Linked DNA regions of Homo sapiens: region 1 is linked to region 2. Evidence: promoter capture Hi-C in human tissues and cell types (Jung and others, 2019). All regions are on one chromosome and are shown on one strand. Each heading gives the region's core, a stretch centred on a gene start or on the middle of the fragment in contact. The rest is flanking DNA. Distances are from core to core; before and after follow the strand shown. Region 1 has its middle 170 kb from the start of TTC29. Region 2 holds the start of SLC10A7 (solute carrier family 10 member 7).

Region 1 (5,623 bases), core at 356-2,855, 590 kb after region 2:
AAAATCATTCCATCCCAAGTTTGTGTAGGCCAAAAAATCTGATTATAACTTTTTTAGCTTAGAACCTTAACTCTAATGGTGCTTCTGTATGGTTTAAATATAAACGATACATTTAGTTTGTATAAACCAATATAAAATTCCCAGTAATGCACCTACCACATATGTGAGGGAATATCACTATGCCTTGTTTGATATATTACCAAGGGTTTTTTCCTATTTGAAAAAGTCACCAAGGTTCTACTTTTTGTTGAGTCACATAGCTGGATAGCTCTGCATGGCTAGTTGCCATACTCAGGATGACTGTGGAAGCACAAGTATTTTGTCTTCTGGTGTCATTTGTATCCAAGCATTATGTTGAAATGCTTATTAGTTCACCATTTGCCAATTATCATGAAATGCATATTATGATTTCACCATTTGCCAATTTCCTCTATTTCTCCTTTATGTTATAATTAGAGCACTCTAATGTGCTCGAATTTAAATAATGTAGTATCTTGTGTTAGCTCTAAAATTTCTTTCTAAGATAGTAAAGGGAAAAGAAAATATAAAACTATTTGTTGGGGGAGAAAGGATTTGGGGAAACATTGGTCAACAGACACAAAATTTCCAGTTACACAGGAGGAATGAGTTCAAGAGACCTATTGAACATCATGGTGTCTATAGTTAATAACAATATATTGTATACTTGAAAATTGCAAGAAGACTTCAAGCACTTACCACAAAAAATACATATGTGATGTCATGCATATGTTAAAGAGCCTGATTTAGCCATTCCACAATGTGCACATTTATCAAAACATCATGCTAGATACCATAGGTATACACAATTTTTGTCAAGTAAAAATATATAAATAAATATTTGTTATGTAGGGTTGGAATCAGATAAGGTTAAGAGCCTCTGTTCTATGCAGTTCCTATTTTTCCACTTTCCATATTGAGTGCTTCCTGTGTGCCAGATACTAAGTATTTCCCATACTTGCTCTCCTTCACTCTTCCCAACCTTCTATCGATGACATAAAACTACATAATTTTATATTGTTTATATAAACTAAAGCTTAAAGAATCTAAGTAAACCAGTAAGTGGAAAAATCCAAGATTCAAGTTCAAGTCCACCTAGCTGCAAGGCCTGGCATCTTAACCATTCCACTTTTTTAACTAATGTAGAAAAAGGTCATCTTTTAAAAATATTACTACCATATTTCTATGTATATAGTTTAATAACCTAGTTATTGAAGATATTTATCTAGCAATTAAAAGGAGCAGCAACTAAGCACTAGAGCCTTTTGTTTTAATGTACCCTTTGTGTAGTTTTTAATAAACTCTGTTACCTAATTGCCTTACTTAGCATATCTCTGTGCTATTAAAACTTCTTTAATGTTTTATGTGGAAAAAATACTAATCCTTAAAATGTAAGTTATTAGCTAAGAATTTTTAAATACAGTATTTCTCCAGAGTCCTTCATCCAGAAAATCCTAAGTACTTTAGCAACACTAGTCATATATGGAAAATAGTCCCACTCTCTAATTATAAAAAATGACAATGAGTACATTTCCATCCAAGCTGTTACCTCAGAGAGGAGTCAGATCACAGAACACCTAAAAAGTGCAATAGACTCATCCAGTTTCAGAGAAGGGTTTTGCTCAGCAGCCATTGTGCATCTAGGTCAACAGAGAATGTCAGCTGATACAAATCAGGACAATGATGAGTGCCTGTAATATGACCACCACTTTACATGTATTATTAGGTTGGTGCAAAAGTTACTGAGATGTTTGTCATTGAAATAATGGCAAGCCAAGCATGGTAACTCACGCCTGTAATCCTAGCACTTTGGAAGGCTGAGGCAGGTGCATCACCTGAGGTCAGGAGTTCAAGACCAGCCTGGCCAACATGGTGAAACCCCGTCTCTACTAAAAATATAAAAATTAGCCGGGCATGGTGGCAGGCGCCTGTAATCCCAGCTACTCTGGAGGCTGAGACAGGAGAATTGCCTGAACCCAAGAGGTGGAGGTTGCAGTGAGTGAGATGGTGCCATTGCACTCCAGTCTGGGCAACAAGAGTGAAACTCCATCAAAAAGAGAGAGAGAGAAGGAAGGAAGGGAGTAAGGGAGGAAGAGAGGAAGAAAGGAAGAAAGGAAGAGAAAAAAACGCAATTACTTTTGCACCAACCTAATATTTTTTTATTAACCCATGAGTTAAGTATTATCGCCTTTATTCTTTATTATACAGAAGGACAACTGAGGGCTCCAAGAGGTTTAAGTGACTTAAGAGACTCCAACCACAGAGTGTGCAAGCTGGGATTTGAGCCCGGCATGTTCTATTATGCTAATCTACTCAACTTCATGTGTGTGGGGATTTGAGGCAGTTACAGCGAGTCATATTACGACTGAGGGGAGTTTTGGTGCGGGCTATGGATTAAACCTCCAGTTAAGTCTTGCTTACACCTAGGAAGTCTAATATCCAGTGAATGTTCCCAACTGTCTCTAACACATAAGGATTTCGCTGGATTTGGGCAGTTAACATGCCACTTCAAGGATGAGAATGTTTCTTGGGAAATCCAACAGTGACAGGAAAGCTTGAGTACACTCTTTAATAGCATGCAAATGATGGGGCTGGAAATTCCCAGAACCGTTTTCCACTGTCCTGCACTCTCTCTATTTTTGGTATTGCTATTCAATAGCTCTCATGTCCTAGGAAAATCATATCACTGCTGAGAAACTCTTTCTTTAAAGGCATCTATAACTTCCATGCTCTCATCATCTTCTTTCATTTGTTTTGGGACAGAACTTTAGAAAGTTAAATTGAAAATTTAAAAACTAAATATAAAAGCAGCAGCCACTGGGTGTCACTGATTTACCACTTGAATGTACCTCATCCCACATATCTATAGCAGGAAAAAACCTGGCCTTTTTATTGGACTATTTCAAAGCACTTTATGTTCTTGAGTGCTATAGATAAGCAGAAGAATTTAAAATGTTTAAAACATGAATCTTCTGACACTGAGAAGCTCAAGGACCATTACTGTATGCTCTGTTACAGCTATTTATAACTGTAAGTAATAATATTCCCATTTTAGAGATGGATACACTAAAGCAGAGCAAGCTAGTAAATCGAGGATGGCAGAGGACACACTCTTGAACTTTATTATTTAAATCAGGACTTTCTGGCCAGGTGCAGTGGCTCACGCCTATAATCCTGGCACTTTGGGAGGCCGAGGCAGGTGCACCACCTGAGTTCAGGAGTTCAAGACCAGCCTGGCCAATACGGTAAAAACCCATCTCTACCAAAAATACAAAAATTATCCGGGTGTGATAGTGTGCATCTATAATCCCAGCTGCTCGGGAGGCTGAGGCAGGAAAATCGCTTGAACCTGGAAGGCAGAGGTTACAGTGAGCCGAGATTGCCCCACTGCACTCCAACCTGGGCAACAAGAGCAAAACTTCATCTCAAACATAAAAGAAATAAAAATAAATCAGGACTTTCATGTTGTATTTTTATTTAAAGATAATTCTCTAAAGCCAGGAACACAGTACCCATTATTTCATTCTTGCTCATATCCCGCCCCCCCCCCACCAATTCTATATCTAAGATGAAGAAAAAGAAATCATTTCAGAACATTTCCAAAAGAATGTCAGGATTCACCTCCTTTCCAAGGTGGCCAAATAGGAACAGCTTTGGTCTGCAGCTCCCAGCGTGATCAACATAGAAGATGGGTGATTTCTGCATTTCCAACTGAGATACCTGGTTCATCTTATTGGGACTGGTTGGACAGTGGGTGCATCCCATAGAGGGTGAGCCAAAGCAGGGTGGGGTGTCGCCTCACCCGGGAAGTGCAAGGGATCTGGGGATTTCCCTTTCCTAGCCAAGGGAAGCCATGACAGACTGTACTTGGAAAAACAGGACAATTTCACCCAAATACTACACTTTTCCCAAGGTCTTAGCAACCAGCAGACAAGGAGATTCTCTCCCGTTCCTGGCTCAGTGGGTCCCACACCCACGGAGCCTTGCTCACTGCTAGCACAGCAGTCTGAGATTGAACTGTGAGGCGGCAGCCTGGCTGGGGGAGGGACATCTGCCATTGCTGAGGTTTGAGTAGGTGAACGAAGCAGCCAGGAAGCTTGAACAGGGTGGAGCCCACCGCAGTTCAGCAAGGCCTACTGCCTCTATAGACTCCACCTCTGTGGGTAGGGCATAGCTGAACAAAAGGCAGTAGACTTCTGCAGACTTAAACCTCCCTGACAGCTCTGAAAAGAGCAGTGGTTCTCCCAGCACGGTGTTTGATCTCTGAGAACAGACAGACTGCCTCCTCAAGTGGATCCCCGACCCCTGTGTAGCATAACTGGGAGACACCTCCCAGTAGGGGCCGACAGACACCTCATATAGGCGGGTGACCCTCTGGGATGAAGCTTCCAGAGGAAGGATCAGGCAGCAATATTTACTGTTCTGCAACATTTGCTGTTCTTCAGCCTCCATTGGTGATACCCAGGCAAACAGGGTCTGGAGCAGACCTCCAGCAAACTCCAACAGACCTGCAGCTGAGGGATCTGACTGTTAGAAGAAAAACTAACAAACAGAAAGGAATAGCATTAACATCAACAAAAAGGACATCTATACCAAGACTCCATCTGTAGGTCACCAACATCAAAGACCAAAGGTAGATAAAACTGCAAAGATGGGGAGAAACCAGAACAGAAAAGCTGAAAATTCTAAAAACCAGAGTGCCTCTTCTCCTCCAAAGGATCACAGCTCCTCGCCAGCTACAGAACAAAGCTAGATGGAGAATGACTTTGATGAGTTGACACAAGTAGGCTTCAGAAAGTCAGTAATAACAAACTTCTCTGAGCTAAAGGAGCATGTTCTAACCCATTGCAAGGAAGCTAAAAACCTTGAAAAAAAGGTTAGATGAATGGCTGACTAAAATAAACAGTATAGAGAAGACCTTAAATGACCTAATGGAGCTGAAAACCATAGCACAAGAACTTCATGATGCCTGCACAAGCTTCAATAGCAGATTCGATCAAGTGGAAGAAAAGGTAACAGTGATTGAAGATCAAATTAATGAAATAAAGTGAGAAGACAAGTTTAGAGAAAAAAGAGTAAAAGGAAACAAACAAAGCCTCCAAGAAATATGGGACTATGTGAAAAGACCAAATCTATGTCGGATTGGTGTGCCTGAAAGTGACGGGGAGAATGGAACCAAGTTGGAAAACACTCTGCAGGATATTATCTAGAACTTCCCCAACATAGCAAGGCAGGCCAACATTCAAATTCAGGAAATACAGAGAACATCACAAAGATACTCCTCAAGAAAAGCAACCCCAAGACACATAATCATCAGATTTGCCAAGGTTGGAATGAAGGAAAAAATGTTAAGGGCAGCCAGAGAGAAAGGTCGGGTTACCCACAAAGGGAAGCCCATCAGACTAACAGCTGATCTCTCGGCAGAAACCCTACAAGCCAGAAGAGAGTGGGGGCCAATATTCAACATTCTTAAAGAAAAGAATTTTCAACCCAGAATTTCATATTCAGCCAAACTAAGCTTCATAAGTGAAGGAGAAATAAAATCCTTTACAGACAAGCAAATGCTGAGAGATTTTGTCACCACCAGGCCTGCCTTACAACAGCT
Region 2 (6,084 bases), core at 3,162-5,661:
GATATCAGTGTCACCCCTGGTGTCTTACTGTCCCAACAGAGGTAAGCATTTGTGTGATGCAGCCTAACTCCAGAGAGCATTTTCCAGAGGGCAAGGACCGTGGCTGTCTTGCTCAGCACAGTGTCTTCAGACCAGAAGAATAAAGAAGCACACAGGACAGCATGTAAGCAACATCCTTCAATAGAGGTCCTAATTATATCTATCATGGTATCAGCACTTATATAACAATCAAAATACCCCCGAGCCCAAAGAAGGGAATCAATGGAAGAAGTTCCCTTCTCTTTAGCAAATATTATTTCATTTCTTCTAGGATATCAGAAACAAAAGCTTATAATCACACATGCATTCAGTTCTGCCCAAGAGTATTCATTCTACAAATACTTATTGAGCACTTGCTATGTGAATAAGATAATGCATATAAAGTACTTAATAATATATTGCTATGACCGTAATTATTATTAAATTGTGCTAGGCCCTAGAGATATGTGGTGACCCAGCCAGGCCTGGTCCCTGCCTTCCAGGAAATCCTCTCTGGAGTTAGGATGGCAGCATTCAAATGTGTTAACACTGCGAGAACAATACTTAAAAGTATCATTTGTGAGTGGATATAAGTATCATTTGTGACATGTACACAATTGGCTTGAAGACCTAATGTGCTAACAAAAAACAACATTCTTTCAAAAAATGCAGTCCTGAGAAAATGACATTTTATACCTATATAGCAGTGGTTCTCCAGCAGTAGAAATCTTACCCTCCATGGACATTTGAAAATGTTTAGAAATGTTTTTTGGTTGTCATAACTTGGGGGATAGGATGTGCTACTAACATCTAGTGGGTAGAGATCAGGAATTCTATTAAACATCTTGGAAGGCATAGAACAGCCCCTCCAACAACAAAAATTATCATGTTCAAAATGTCAATGTGCCAAGGCTGAGAAATCTTGGTACATGGCAACATTTAAAAACCTAAGATCATCTCATATTTGGCATCCTATTCAGTCTTCTTGTACTAGATTAAATAGTGTCCCCCGACTCCCAAAATTCATGCCCACCCAGAACCTGTGAATGTCACATTTTTGGAAATAGGGTCTTTGCAGATGTAATCAAGTTAAGATGAGGTCTTATTGGATTAGGAGGGACATTAATCCAATAACCGGTATTCTTAAAAGATGGAAATTTGGACACAGACACATGCACAAGGAAGATAGCCATGTGATGACAGAGGTGGAGGCTGGAGTTATATTGCCACAAGCCAAGGAACGGCTGGCAACCACCACAAGCTAGAAGACTCAAAGGATTCTTTCCCAGATGTCCTTTGGAGGACATCTTGACCTCAGACTTCTGGCTTCTAGAACTGTGAGATAATAAATTTCTGTTGTACTGAGCCACCTGGTTCATGGTAATTTGTTGTGGCAGCCCTAAGAAACTAATACACTCACTTAAGCAAAACAACAGGACAACAATCACGGCTCCTCCATAGCCTGAAACCCTCCACTTGTTCGATATATGGACAGAAGACCAAGCTCAGGAAAAATCACCATATATATATATATATATATATATATATATATATATATATATATATAATATAATATATAATTAATATATATTATGTATATAACATAATATATAATATATGATACAATAATGTACATAATATATAATATACATAATATCTCAAGGCCCCTCTGAGAGAGAATATATATTATATATAATAATATATTTTATATAATATATAACATATTATATACAATATATAACATAATATATAATATGATAATATATAATACATTATTTAACATAATATATAATATTATCTATATATAGAGAGAGATGACCTACTATGTCTTAGGCATTTGTAGTACAACAATGAATAAAAGAAACAAAGATTTCCTCAAATGCTGTAATAAATTATTTAATATGCCTGGCATTTACACAAATCATTTTGCTGAGATCTAAGAAAAGGGAAAGAAAGGGAGAAGGCAAGTGCAAAAGGCATTGCATTTGGGGGCAGTGAAGGCTGCTCAAAAACTTTTATAAGAGGTACATTATCTTTATATTTGTTAGTGAATCTGTCTCAGCAGCTCACACAGGTAATATTTCTTCAGCAGCTAAGCAAGGTGATTCAGGAGCAGATTTTAAAGTCAAGGAATCTGGCTTGCTTGGGAAGTAGAAGTTTCCCAGGAATTTTAAATACCCTGGTCTCCAATAGTTCCTCTTCCCTAAGCTAGCTACCTTAACCTAGAGAGAGTCACCTGGTATCTTCAACTGTAAAAGAAGCATGTTGGCTTAAAACACTTTAAATATTCCCCTCCCCCTCTTAACATTCTATTATAATTAAACAAAGGAATGAATTATCCTACATTAAAGACAGAAGGACTAGTGGAAATGGGAAATGGCATTTCTATGATACAATAATGTACCAAAATATTAATAAGCAGAGTCTATGGAACACATAAGTTTGCAGAATCTATCTCATACATGCCACTGCAGAAAAGCCCCACGGAAATGATTCAGCATTCAACACCTTTCTTCCCACAGAATATTTAGGAATGCAAGGTAAAAGATATTTTGCCAAACTTAGCCCCTGCAGATTTAAAGTTAAAGATCATACATCCTCTGTAATTTCATCTCAAAACTGAGCAAATAAGAGATCTAACACGAGAAGCGATAGCTAGTGAAGTGTGCATTGCAGATCATGCAAAGGTACTCTAAGTCTTACTATTCATTTAGCTCCGGGGATAGGGGGTCTTCATTTGACAGACCTGATCTTCACAAGAGTTTCCCAAAAGTTCACAGAGCAGCAGTGTTAAAGAAGAAACTATTACCATCAATCAGAGGGAGAAACCACCAGGAATAACTGCTTTATTCTCACAGTTACATATTCTACACATTTTGTTCTAAGTTGAATACAGAAGAACAAAATTTTAAAACAAACAATCCTTCATCTCCACAATTTTGGTTTAAATAATTCCTTTTAAAATGTTCCCGGAAGCTACTTCTAAACAGAGTAATGGGGTGGAGGTTAAGGGGAGAAGGGACCACTGCTGTTCTCCTAAGAGATCATTTCATTCACTTCCATCATGTTTTAACAAAAAGATAAAAATAACTTCAAATATCCTCCTGAGCGCTTCCTACTATGAAATATTGTGCCTGTTCACCTCTATCCTTATTTGCTCCGGTTGCATGAGTTAGGTATTAAACCTGTCAATAAGCTTGGAAACTGACAAACAAGGTCAAAAAGACAAGCGAATTGAATAAATTCAATTAATGTTTATGAAAAGTAGTACAAGATTGTCTAAAGGTGTTGGGGGGGGCATAAAAAACTAATATTTCTAATGTTCCCACCAGTGCCCATCATCTCCTGTACAAAGCTCCCACTATTCAGAGATCTAAGTATGCTTTCAGTCCATCCACATTTCCTTGCCAAAACACACACTACACTACACTACACATAGTCTAACAGTCTGTATCTGTTAGACTGCTAGTATAGCAACTGAATCCCGGCAGCACACGGAAGTATGCTGTAATGAAGTGTCCTGTAATCAAAGAGTGCAACGTGTCAGTCGGCTTGGGAGTTTCTGGAGCACCAGCAACTACAGCAAATCATCACTCTCCAACATGTGGGCCATAAAATCTGAGTTGGGGGCGGAGGTGTCCCTTTTCTTGTTTTTCCTCCACTTTTTTTTTTAATGTGGGGGCGGGGAGGACTCGAAAGTAGACTCGATAATGAGGTCCACTCCAAGATAGATACGGAACTCTTAGCAACCTAGATTCCCTTGGGATAGGATGCTACTTTGAAGGCAAGAGGAGTAAGTTTCATTCTCTGTAACCTCACTTCTTGACACTCAGGATAGTCATTGTTTGTCTACGGAAAAGGCTACCTGCCCTCAAATTCCTTTGCCTCGTTCCTAATTACAAGTTCCCTCTGGGGTTGGTAAATTAGAAAATCAGCAAAAGGGCCAAAGGCTGGTCAGTGCCCCCTGAAATTGGCAAGCGCTTGCAATGAGGGTTGCCCCACCTTTCCAAGACTCACAAATTAGTTCTGAAGTGGGAGCCGCGGTGGAGCCGGCAGAGGTGCAGCACTTACCCCCATTCACCCCTATGGACGGCTCCAGTTTAGCTCCAGCGATCGCCAGCACTATTCCGACCATGAACCAGTCTTTCCTCATTCTCTCCAGCAGCCTCATATTTGTTAGGGTGGGTGGGTTTTGTTTATTTGTTTGGCTTTTTTTCTTTTCAAGCTCCGATCACCTAATCCTTGGAGCGTCTCCACACTTTCCTTGGTCCCTCCAGACATGCAGCAGAGCAAGTCAAATTGCCGATTGTAAAGTAAAGACCTGGGGGTTGCTCCGGCGGCTTTGAGGAGGGTTGGGAGTAGTAGTAGCCAGTGACAGGAAAGTCTCACTGAGCGCCGCCATCACTACCACGCGCCTCAGAATACACGCGCACAAACGCCCCCAGCGCCTCTGGCCGCGGGCTCGCAGGTGCAGATGCTTTGAAATGAAGAACTCGGACCAGGCCGACAACGTGGGCGATCCGGCAAGGGAGGCTGGCCGCCGGATGGGGCTGACAAGCGCACCGCTGTCGAGACCTGCGGAACCTTCTGAATGACGAGGGGTCGGGGAGAGCGTCGTAAGGCGCCACAGCCAGCAAGCCTCACTGACTGTCCTTTTCTAACAAACCTTTAGGCACAGCCACCCACCCTTCTGGAGCATATCTCCATGGAGAGCCTCTCTTTTGCTGTGCCATGACTCCGCGGGCAGGGCTGACGTGTGCTTGGGGCAAGGGATTTCTCCGTTGAAGCTGCGGCAGCGGGGTGCAAGTTTGGAGACGCGCTTCTTCGGGACATTACGGCGCTTCCACGACGCTAGCGCTGACGTATGCGCGGGGGGGAGGGGAGGCCACTCTGGATCTCCGAGTTCCCAGCCTGAGCTGCCGGAGTTAGAGGTGTCCGCGCGGGAAAGTGGCTCGCTGGTGGGCGGGGAGCCTTATCTCTGGCGGTGGGTTGAAAATCCGGCGCCGGGCAGATGCCCACGTTCGCTGGACCCCTGCTTGCCGGCGTCCGCTACAACCCAAGGAAGGTGGGCCCGACCTCGCCAGGTCGCTCGCCTGCGGGTGGGCATTTGGTCCGGATCCCCTTCCCTCTGCGGCCCACACCTGTCTCCGGGACTGGGGAGGGCTGCAGGGATCGGGGCAGATCTGCCTTTGCGGGCCGAGAGTGACAGCTGAAGTCTCCCCACCAACTAAGCTACTCGCGGGCGGAGTGGGGTCTGCGCTGGCAAGCCCCTGGGCGCGCGGGTGCCCGCTCTGGCTCGCCCCCAGGGCTGACCTACCCAAGCCACAGGAAAACTCTGGGAAGAGGGTCGCGGATTCCAACGCGGAAGTGGTGGGGGATTGAGTCTGAGAGGTTGGGGAGTCCTACCTTCCATTGCCACGAGTGCTAGTTCTATCTGCCAGTTTCTTCCTTGAAATGTCTTGTGGCAACCAGTGACATTGATGGTTTCATGAATGGACTTCCTACCGGTAGACCCTGCAAGAGCATGAACTCCACTGTATCATTCATCCAAATGAAGAAAGAAAGAAAATAGTATGTGATATTTTGAAATAACCTGGCATCTGCCACTTAAATGGTTAAAAATAGAACTTAAGGTTTGGAAGAGATTGTTTCGTGATGACAGACTTTAATTCTGAATTTATTCAAAGCTGGAAAGACACTCGTCGTGTCATTTCCTCTATTTAATTTAGCTTTATCTTGATGGCAAGACTTCCAGAAACTAAGCCACTTTAAGAGTTGTGCTCCCAGTTGTAGGTTACACAGTACCAAGTGTCATCTAATTATACATCAGGCAACATGAAAAAAAATTAATTTCAAGATAAAAAGAACTTAACAGGGAGACATAGATGACATTAAGCAGTTTACTCTGAAAAGAGACAGGTACATGAAATATAAAATTTGATGTTAGTTGTCAGGCAGTCAGAAGATAAGTGAAGATAAATGAAAGATAGTTTACAACATAATTATTTTCTTATAGTAATTTCTTAGTAGGTTAAAGAGTCATACGTCTCAGTCATTGAAGGGATA

Evidence for each region. The method cuts DNA at HindIII sites, captures the fragments that hold promoters and counts their contacts. A contact is called where the count stands out against the background at its distance.
Region 1: a contact is called between a fragment that was not itself captured here and the fragment with the promoter of SLC10A7 in region 2, in 1 of the 25 tissues and cell types used here (H1 embryonic stem cells).

The regions. Positions count from the first base shown.
Region 1 is chr4:147,108,316-147,113,938 of GRCh38, forward strand. No RefSeq gene overlaps it. Among named protein-coding and RNA genes, the nearest start is that of TTC29, 170 kb to the left of the region's middle. The HindIII fragment of the contact is 3,475 bases long and covers 1-3,343 here.
Region 2 is chr4:146,517,529-146,523,612 of GRCh38, forward strand. It overlaps SLC10A7 (solute carrier family 10 member 7), which reads right to left and starts at 4,412. Exons shown (of 12, transcript NM_001029998.6): 1 at 4,090-4,412. The coding sequence starts at 4,189. RefSeq lists enhancers at 3,540-3,769, 4,210-4,279, 4,500-4,579, 4,590-5,009, 5,180-5,259. The HindIII fragment of the contact is 10,684 bases long and covers 1,771-6,084 here.